2 separate regions of the Homo sapiens genome follow, and region 2 is linked to region 1. The links are contacts of gene promoters, found by promoter capture Hi-C in human tissues and cell types (Jung and others, 2019). All regions are on one chromosome and are shown on one strand. The core of a region is centred on a gene start or on the middle of the fragment in contact, and the rest is flanking DNA. Distances in the headings are between cores, read along the strand shown. Region 1 holds the start of SYT14 (synaptotagmin 14). Region 2 overlaps SYT14 (synaptotagmin 14).

Region 1 (5,372 bases), core at 1,552-4,051:
CAGGAATAATATCATAGTTACAGAGGAAAAGGAAGTGTAGTTGGCCCTTCTGTCTGAATGAAACGCTTAGAAGATACCATGGAAGGAAAGCACAGGATAATAAATTAGTGTCCGTGCTATTTGCTTACTTCTTTCTTTTCTTTGCTAGAGCTTGTGTTACTTCTAAAGCTTTAGGTGGCAGGAAAAAAACTACCATTTGATCTAAGTGAACAAAAATAATTCTAGAATATTTCATGTTAGTTTTTCCCTGTTATAACTGTGCTATCTATAGTAGAGTAAATGACAACTCTTGAGGAAAATATTTGCTGGAGGAAATGGAAGAGAAAACAAAATTATTCTGATTTCTGGTTATTTTTTTCCATCTCCATCTTTAACTACCTCCACACAGCATGATGGATATATTTCTTAACAGTGTCAGGTCATTAGATAGAATTGCCAAACATGGGAAATTGCTGCTATTCTTTTCCCACTACAGACATTACAGTTTATCTCACCAAGTGCTCATTAAATAATCTTCTTTCTTAGTTCCTGGCTGAACACTACCATGCCATTTCTGTAGCTCTAAGTCTATGCTGTTTGATATGGCAGACAATAGCCACAAGTGGCTTTTTAAACTTTAAACTGAATAAAATTAAATAAAGCTAAAAATTCAGTTCCTCAGTTGCACTCCCTACGTTTAAAGTGCTCAATAGTCACAGGTGGCTACGGGCCACTGTATTGGACAGCACAAATACAGAGTGTTTTAATAGTTGCGGACAATTCTTTTGGATAGCTCTGCTGTAAGGGAACTGCAGGGAAGTACGATGAAAGGCAAGTGCTTGCAAAAGAGTTAGAAGGTAGACAAGAGGTGGATGTCTAGACAGTACAGTACCTTTGTAGTTACTACTTAACTCATTTATCCCTGAGGTTGCAATTTTTAGAATTTTTGCAATCAGACCTTGGCGATGACCTTGAGCAGCAGGATGTAAACAACTCCCGCGTGCTTAGCGTTCCAATAATGGAACACTAGGCATAAGTTAAGTTCTTTCTGTCCAACAACCTCCTTCTAGGAACTATCTTCCTTCTTCCCCAGTTCATCCACATGAGTCTCCTGGACAAATAAGTCTCCTGGACAAATAGTAGCGATGTTAATCTAGGTTATGGAAACTCACATAATCTGGTTATTTACTTAGTAACTATGTAATTGGTGAGGAAAGGATGAATACATTTTTCGGGCTTTCAATATGAAATTCTTTAAAAGTTTGAACAATTGGGTTACTCAGAACTAGCCAGAAACCACAACTTACAACTGTGGTGTCAAGTTCAGATCAATGTCTTGGAGTTCAAGACTGTTTTAAGGGAGGCTGCCTGGGGAAAATGTCATTAAACATTTTACCCGAATCCTCTAGATGTCCATCATAAACTCTCTCATGGAGCTTTCCTAAAGTATAGGCATTTTAATGTTTCCTGAGTAAAACAGTATTTTCTTTGATCCTTCAATAACAATTCTTGCTTGTAGCCAGTTTTCAGCACAGTGCCGGCTTCACAGATACTCACTGAACTAAAGAAAATGGTAAAGGATGAATGTCTATTGAGCATAAAATGCGACTGAGGGAGAGGTTATATAAAAGCAATGGAAGACAGTTTCTGCTCTAGATTTACAGTCCAACCTTACTTACATAAGTGTAAAATATTTTCTTCTTTGTTTCAGTCCCTAATATAGCTATTTTGCTCTAGGAATTAGCATTTCCTCCACAAGAGAGAATCACTAAACTCCCTATTTCTCAATGTTGTTTATGCCGTTGATTGTCCAGGTTCTCAAATTACTAAATGAAGTTGAGAGTTGGGTAAATGGTTGAGCGGTTCAAGTATCTTAAGTAAAAACTAAGTGGCCAATTGTTGTTGTGCTCAGGGTTGGCCTGGGACTGTTCACAATGGTCACAGGTTTACAAATTTTTAAAAACCTGCGTGTGACATGCTTTCCAGGTCCTTTGTCAAAACGTCCGTCTGACCCTGACTTTTGTGTGGCTTCAAATGTGCGTTTGCAATGTGTAGACAAATTCCAACTCAGAGTTCCAAGAGGTAAGCCAAGCTCTGTGTGGCAGCAAGGCTTATCAAGAGCGAGGCTAAGGGGTGAAGTGAGTGTGTGTGTGTGTGTGTGTGTGAGAGAGAGAGAGAGAGAGAGAGAGAGAGACCACTGCTGTGCTCAGGATTCCTCTCTCCTTTTTGCTTTTTGCCAACTAGCTGTTTCTCCACAGCGGAGATCTGAGACGAGTATGTGGCTGATTCGGGCAAAACAAAACAAAATAAAACCAAACGAAACCAAAACAGACTTACTATTACCAAATCTGAGAGTCAGTGGGTGGGAATCCTTTTCAACCAAGGAGACCTGTCCATGGTCCTGACCACATCATTTGCCACTCGCCTCCTTCATGGACACCGTTTGCTCCAAGTACCGGACGGGAGGGCGCCCGGCGCCAGGAAGCTTGGGCTTGGGCCCCCACACGAGCTCGGCGCGCTTCGGGCGGGTCTCGGGCGCGGGCCCGTGGCTCTCCGGGCCGGGCACCTGTTTCGAATCGAGGCGCGAGGCGCGGTGGGGCGGTGGGGTGGGGTGGGGTAGGTTGGGGTGGGGGCGGGGTGGCGTCACGTGCCAGCGGCGGCCCCGGGAAGGTTCCATTTCTTCCGCGGCCCGCACTCGCGGCGCTCGGGGCCCCTCCCTCGCCCCGCCCGCGGCGCCCCTCGCGGCCGCACAGCCGGGCGACTCCGGGCCGGGCCCCGCCCCTCTCGCTGGCGGACTCAGCGCGTCCTCCGCCAGCCCTCGCGTCTGCTGCCCCCGCCATCCAGTTGGTGCGGTCCATGGCGAGCGCATCATGGCGATTGAAGGTAAGTGGAGGCTGACAGCGGGGAGCGAGGACCGGGACCACCCAGCTGGCGGGGGGCTCGGAGGTGCGCCGGCAGGCCGAGGCGCTGACGGGGCCGCCTCCTGTGGTCTGGAGCCGGCTGAAGACGCGCGGGGGTCCTGGCCGCGTCTCGGGAGGCGGGTGGGCGGAGCGGCGCCGCTGGGACGCCGGGCCCGACTGGCTCGCTCGCCCCGGCCTTCGTGGTTTTGCCGGCCTCCCGGCGGCCGCACGCGGGGCAAAGCGGGCTGGCGGGCAGGTACAGCGTCCGGGCCGCCGCCTCCTGCCGGCCGCGCGGAGTGGAGGTCGGGGTGAGGCCCTGCAGACCCCACGGGACGGGCTGGGAGGAGCGAGGGGCCACGGGGGGCTCAGGCTGCCCTTTCTTTTCTTTCCCCGGCCGCGGCAAACCATCCTTCCGCAATACCCACCTTCCTGCCAAACTGAGAGTCCAGTTTTTTGTCCCATTCCTAACCCTTCCCTGTGCCCGCTCGGGCTGATGCTGGGTTACACTCTCTGCCCGTTCCCCTTCTGTTTGCTGTTGTAGGGGGTCCAGGAAATTTGGGGTTAGGTTAATTTCCTCCTCAAGTGGTTTTGTTCCCCGCCAACACTCAAAACTGTTTTTCTCCATGAAAAGAAGTAAATAACGTCTTTACAACAAGCACACATTCTTAGAATCCTGCAAATACCAGTCTATGAAGTGTTATAGTGCCACAATGCTCATATTTCGAAAAACAGCTTAATAAAAATTAAGTTCCTAGATAAGGTAGTTGACACTAAAGTGTATTTTTCTCTTGTTCCAGAAACATGTAACTGGGACCAAGTGTCTATATTTTGCCTTGTTTTTAAGGAAGAGATTGTGAGAATTAATTTCACACGTCTAGGATATTTATGTGAAAGATTACATCTTCCAGGCCCTGTCTCTTAGATTAACTCAAACAGTGAAAGTAATTTGTAAATTTTCCCTGTGTGTGTATATTCATCTGTGCAGCTGTGCAAGGTACCTATAGCTATATCATTATTTCTCTACATTGAAAGTGTGTTCCTAAGTAAAACTTTTTAAAGCGTTTCCCTTCTAAGTGATCAATCACTGGTAGTATGCATCTCTGGGGACTTCTTTTTGTCGGATCATGTGGACTCCAAAGTAGAGTTAGCTGTGTGTTTACATGTAGCTTATTTATTTAAGAGAGGGAGTACCTATTGTATGCAAGACACATTCAGACAGTTTCAAATGTCTGCTTGAGTTAAAATGGTGGGGAATAAGATCTACCTATAATCTATGATGTTCCTGTTATCTGCAGCAGTACTTTCAACATTTGTTTCCCTCACTGTCCTTTTACCAAAGGTTAAAAATCAAGAAACCAAACCCACTGATTTATGTTGTGTACTTTATTTTCCCAACTAGTTTGTGGTAGAGTTTCTTGTGAAGCCGTGAAACTCTACCACACTACCACACTACCACACCACGTGAAAGTAGAAAGGTTTAGGCAGAGCATGAGGAAAATCCTTCAGGCAGATGCCATTCGGATATGATGCTATAACTTGTAATTTCTTAAAATCTTTTCAGTTTTTTCCGTTTTTTCTTAGTTCTTCCTTTCTTTCTACTGGCAGTTAAGTGTTACTGATTCATTTTCCATGTCACCTGATGGCATTTTACTCTGCCTACTGCTTAACATGTTTGAAGAATAAGATTTTTTAAATCCTCACATTCTAGAGATTCTTCTGTGTTTGAGATACTCTCATAAATATTTTCATACTGAAGCATTTGCTTAAGTTTTCATAATACAAAGATCAGGAATTATATCTTTTCTAGTTTGGCAAAGAAACTGTAATTAATATTAGCACTTCAGATAAAGATGGCAGTTCGAATTAGCCTAACTGTGCTCCTTATCACATAGTAAAATAGATTCATTATGCACACCCTTCCTAGGCTGTGTTATGAAGTAGAATGAGTTCTGCATGAGACTCTGTACTAAGGACATCTTAAAAATTTAGGGGCCCAAAAGGGCGTCTCATCTTTTCAGTAAAGTGTTTCTTAAAACATTCAGTTTCTTCATTCACCTATTAATTCAGTAGACCTTTTTTTTTTTTGTACAATAGCTGTATACAATGTTCATTGCTAGATTCCATGGGGCCAAAAAGATAAGTAAGACTATAACCCTTCTCTCAAAGAGTTCATGTTCTATTCGGAGAGACAGATAATTTTAAACATGCAATTACAGTGTAGTGTGAATGCTAAGAGATGGATCATCTTTCCTTTGTATAAAAACATTCAATGATGATGGGTCTAACACTGTTTTTTGGCAGTAATTCTTATATTCATAAGGTCTTTGTATTTGGCCGAATATCTGCCATTCAGTAACGTCTGTCTACCCATCCTAGTTTTGCTTTCTGTAGCAATAAATTAAAAGCCCACTATTCTCTCTATATATGATATCCCTTCTGCCATTTGAAGACAGCTCTAGAGTGTTTTCTAGATAAAATATCCACTTCCCTCCT
Region 2 (4,833 bases), core at 2,301-4,800, 68 kb after region 1:
TAGATCTATAGTCTATCTAGAATTGGTTTGTATGTAAATTCATTTTTCCCTTATATCCTCGATTTTCCAAGCACAATGCATTCAAAACATGATCCCTCACTCACCCACTGCTCTGCAGCCAACTTTGTCATACATCAGAATCCATGTGTGCAAGTGTCTGTGTCTGGCCTTTTGGTCTGTTATCTATTCCTGTGCCAATATCATCTAGTTTTAATTATTCTACTTTTAAAATAATTCTTGGTATCTGGTAGAGTTTCCTCCCTTTAGTTTTCATTCTGTGCCTGCCAAGAAACCTTTTAATTACTGTTTCAGCTTTTCAGGTACTCTAATACCAGGAAGATGTGTGTGTCCTGATTTCACATTCTGTTAACATTTCTGTTATTCTAATGGAGTTTTCTCCAGTTTAAATTTTATGTTGTTCATATATCCGCTGCCATTTGAATTTATTTGGATACTGTGTAACAGGATCTAACAGCTAGATTTTTTACCTCTATTCATTTTTTTTCCTCACATAGGCCCTCTAGGCCCTGAAAAAAGACAAGTTTTTGGTCTTCTAAAAGTGAGGGTAAGACAGTAGACAATGATGAACTCATCAAAGATCATACTGTTCTGGAAAGCAGCTTGCTGACCAGTCACTTGCTGGCAATGCTTCTTAACTTGCTCTCTTTAAGCCATTGCATTATATTCTTTAGCAGGATTAGGAAACCAGTTTCCCTTTTAAAATGCATTAAATATTGCCAAATCCTTACAAATAATTGGTTTTAATATTTTTTCCCACATAAATTTAATTTTATTCACAAATGATTTATTTTTTTAACAAATGCTGTTTCTGTTTGTTTTATTCTGCTTTTTAATTTTTTTTCCTTATTGTGAAAGTCTCCAAATGTATTCTTTACTAGGTGTTCTCAATTTTACTTTGAAATTGGAGACCATAATTGCTTTCATCAGAATCAGATAGCATAATAGAATGATTAGTTTTCACCAGTTAGAAACATTATACTGCTGATTTCTGTTTGACTCGTATTATATTATTTTAATTTTTTTCCTGACACATTTTACTGAGCCAACATTTTCATTAACATTTATTAGTGTTTGGCTCCTAATGGTGTAGTAACCTTGAAATTATCCATATTGAATTTCACTTTGTTTTGATGTGTTATTTCTTTAATATATTGAGGTCCTTAGTGTATCTTTCTTTCTTTCAGAGAATTAGCAATCATGCCCTACCTAGTATTCCTAGGACCTTCTACAAAATTAATGAACATATTCTCAATTCCTTTATTCAGGTCATTGGTAAAGGTATTAAGTAACACGGGTTTATATATCTCCCAAAATACCTAACTAAGATGGATACCACTGAAAGACGTGTCATGGTATACCACCAAATTTTACATCTCTTAATTTCATCATACATCTCTTAATTTCATCATTTCATTGCTTATCTTTTCTCTTTTTGATTGACAAATTCTTTCTTCAGTTAATGTTGATTTGGTGGCTGGTGACCCTTGTAGCACTACTTCTTACTTTATAACACCTTACTTATTGAAAAGTAGCTCCTACTTCATTTTAATTATTTAAAATTTGTATTTCAATCTCTAAGGACAGGACTCAAACTGTTTCTCACATGATTCTGCTCCAAAACTGCGATGCTTGTTCAGAGGTTACTCAGCAAATCTATCAGCAGCTGAACTTAAAGGATTGTATCTTTTCTCAAAGCTTTTAGAGTAGTTTTTCTTTAAAATTTCAAATATATTTGCTTTTACTATATCTGATACAGATATCATATCAACAAAAAGGTAGAATGATATCATTTTGCAAATGGAGCTACACATTTTTTATTCTAGATGCATTGAGAATGCAAGTGAGTAGAACATTCCAGTTGCTATATTCAGGTGGGAGCACAGTATGATGTTGATGTTGAGCTCTTGTCATCACTAACTGAACTATGCCGGACTCATTTATTTAGTGGATAAGAAAACATGATATGCTGGTAAGGTTAGATGAAGCTTTGATTGCCTATGTATGTGTTCATACACAGTAAATCTATTGAACCATTCAATGTTTTCAGCAAAAGCTACTTCTCTTCAAAATGGATCAGGCTTAGTAGGGGAAAGATGGTTTTAGAGTGAGCAAACAATGTTTTGATCATTTCAAGAAGAGAACCAGGTGTCCTAATATTAAAATTTGAGAGGAAGATGGTGTCTCTCTGAGAGATTTGAATGAAACTGCTTGGTATTTATCAGAATTTTGATGGGTTTGAACTAAATCTTGAAATAAGCTTATCTAAAACTGTAGTTGACATCACAGATTGGCTTTAACCAGAATATTCCCCTGCAATTGGTGTTGAATTCAAAATCTTACTCATAGTAGCTCAGCATGAAGATCTTATTGAAAAGAAAGAAAGAATCATTGAAAAAGTAAAGGAGAGGAAGCAGTGACCTTAGATATTGTCCATGCCGTTTCTCATTTAGATAATTGTGAAGGAATCCATACACATTGAATAGGTAATGAAAAAAATTGAGACAATTCGTTGTTCAAAAGAATGACTATGCTTTGCTGTAGGGAGATTTGCCAGGAAAATAAGTTTTTCTTAGTCTAAAACTTCATTAGAATCATAATTCTAAAGCCTCAATCAAGACTGTCCTTGAAGAAAAGTCTCTGCCAGAGATTGATAGAGTTTTATATTAAGATTTGGTTTAAATATATGAAGTACATTAAGTATTATTAAGTAAGAAGTATATGGTTTAAATACACTTTATATTTGGTTTTCCATACTTAATAAAAGTTTGGGTTTTCTTTTTTTTCTAATTTCTTCAAGATTGATTTAGAGTTTTTTGTTATGATAGTCAAATGAAATTTCAATTTATTGCATGTACTTAGAGGGAATACAGGTTCAATCTATTCATGGCTTGAACTGTGAAACAAATTGGGTGGCATCTGTTTTATCAACCTGTCCAGGTAGGTAACTGTTTCTCTTAGAGGGCATTTTTTTTCCCTAAGATCTTAGTGTTTCACATCACTACCATCTATGCCTTCTTCCATTGTCCCTTTAAGTTACTCACCAGTGAATTGTGTTACTTCTATCAGTAAATGCTCTTTGTAATGATTGTTTTTTATAAAATCTGGAGTTAACAGCTAGCATTGTTACATTCTTTTTTTAATTTACATATATTCTTTCCAGTTTTGCATTGTTTATAATGTAATACGAAAATTTGAGGGAAATTTTATTTGTAAACTAATTGAAATGTTATAAAAGGAAACTGAAACATACTAACCTTCTGTTTTCCTAAATTATCTCTTAGAATTATGAATAATTCTCTATGTCCAAACCCAGAGCAAAATAAATTATAGCATTTTTCTGATTAAAATATGGAGAAAATATTTACAGCTAATTAAATGTAAAACAGGTATATCTTTTTCAATGAAAGTTGACTTTGATAGTTCACATTTTGGTCAAGAGATAGAATTGCATCTATTAAATGAATTATTAAAGTATCCATGACATGGAGTTAGAGGATTAGTGTTTCATGCCCAGCAGGACAAATCAGCAATACATCCCTTATAATGCAAATTGTAAGTTGTTACTTTTTATCTTTTTAAAAAAATAATTAGATAAAGCATAGGTACTTTTTGTTTAATTTTGCATTTAAGATATAATGAATAGAATAGTCTTACAAAATTTATTTTAGAAATTATAATTAATTTGTTTTGATAGAAATATTATTTAGAGTATTATTGTGGTCCAAGTAAATCAAAATAGAAAATGTGTTGGTTTAGTAGATAAATATCCCCCATATATTTAATTATTTTCATGTATATCCTAGCATTTTTCTTAGAAAAACATTTTCTTAGCTAGAAAATGTTCTTTTGTGACAAAATATAATGGAGAATTTAAGTGAATTCTGCAATACTTTCAAAGTCGAAATGTATTTGCTCTTGCTTTGACTTTAGTAAGACTGTAATTTTTTCATTTTTTTCAATGACCAACTTATCTGTAGAAATTAAAATGAATTTTACCACTGTTACTGAAGCTTAAATTTTAAAAAATTGGTATTTTTTAAGTTTATTTTTTGTAAATACATATATTTATTTCTAAATATAAAGATATAACTGCCAAAGCCAGTTCAGTATACATAACACAAATAATCATTAGTCTTGGAAAGACTAAACTTTCTACATTTTCTGGTGAGATATTGTACCTAGTGCCCCTTCTCACTTTGCAGTATGGTCTTTAGGGAATTCATATAGTGGACGATATAGCTCACAGAGAGCAGTTAATATTCTTTATTGAGCACTACTAATGAATATCAAGCTATTTTCTATAGAGTATCTTTAGTTTTTAAATTCATATTTGTTTTATTAGCTTTTCAAATGTGGCATATAAGGAAGTACCACATATTTTGGTTTTTAAACTTAATTCTAAAATTAATTTTAAAATATTTTGAATAGTAACTTGAATAGAAAAAAATTAGAATTCCAGTTTTAAAATTCATGTATTTATTTTGAGGAAGTTGAAATTGCTTGCTATTTTTTAACATATATAAGAGCTATAAATAAAATATTTGCACATAATATATATAGTGAGCTATGTTACTTTGGTCATATAGCTTTTTCTTATCTTTTATATGCAGGTTGGCATACAAGGAGCAGTATTACTTGGTGTTTAAGATCATGGATTCTGGAGTCAGAATGTCTGGATTCAAATCCAGGTTCTACCACTTCATAGATTTGTGAACTTGGACAACTTAATTATTCTCTGGACTTCAATTTATTAATCTAAAGACTAAGATAATATTATAGTACTTATCATAAATTGTCTTGAGTGTTAAATTT

The links. The method cuts DNA at HindIII sites, captures the fragments that hold promoters and counts their contacts. A contact is called where the count stands out against the background at its distance.
Region 2: a fragment that was not itself captured here is called in contact with the fragment with the promoter of SYT14 in region 1 in 2 of the 25 tissues and cell types used here (H1 embryonic stem cells and heart right ventricle).

Annotation. Positions count from the first base shown.
Region 1 is chr1:209,935,416-209,940,787 of GRCh38, forward strand. It overlaps SYT14 (synaptotagmin 14), which reads left to right and starts at 2,802. Exons shown (of 9, transcript NM_001146262.4): 1 at 2,802-2,862. The coding sequence starts at 2,850. RefSeq lists a silencer at 2,249-2,543. The HindIII fragment of the contact is 7,833 bases long and covers 1,317-5,372 here.
Region 2 is chr1:210,003,082-210,007,914 of GRCh38, forward strand. All of the region lies in intron 2 of SYT14 (synaptotagmin 14), which reads left to right. Among named protein-coding and RNA genes, the nearest start is that of SYT14, 67 kb to the left of the region's middle. The HindIII fragment of the contact is 3,378 bases long and covers 1,862-4,833 here.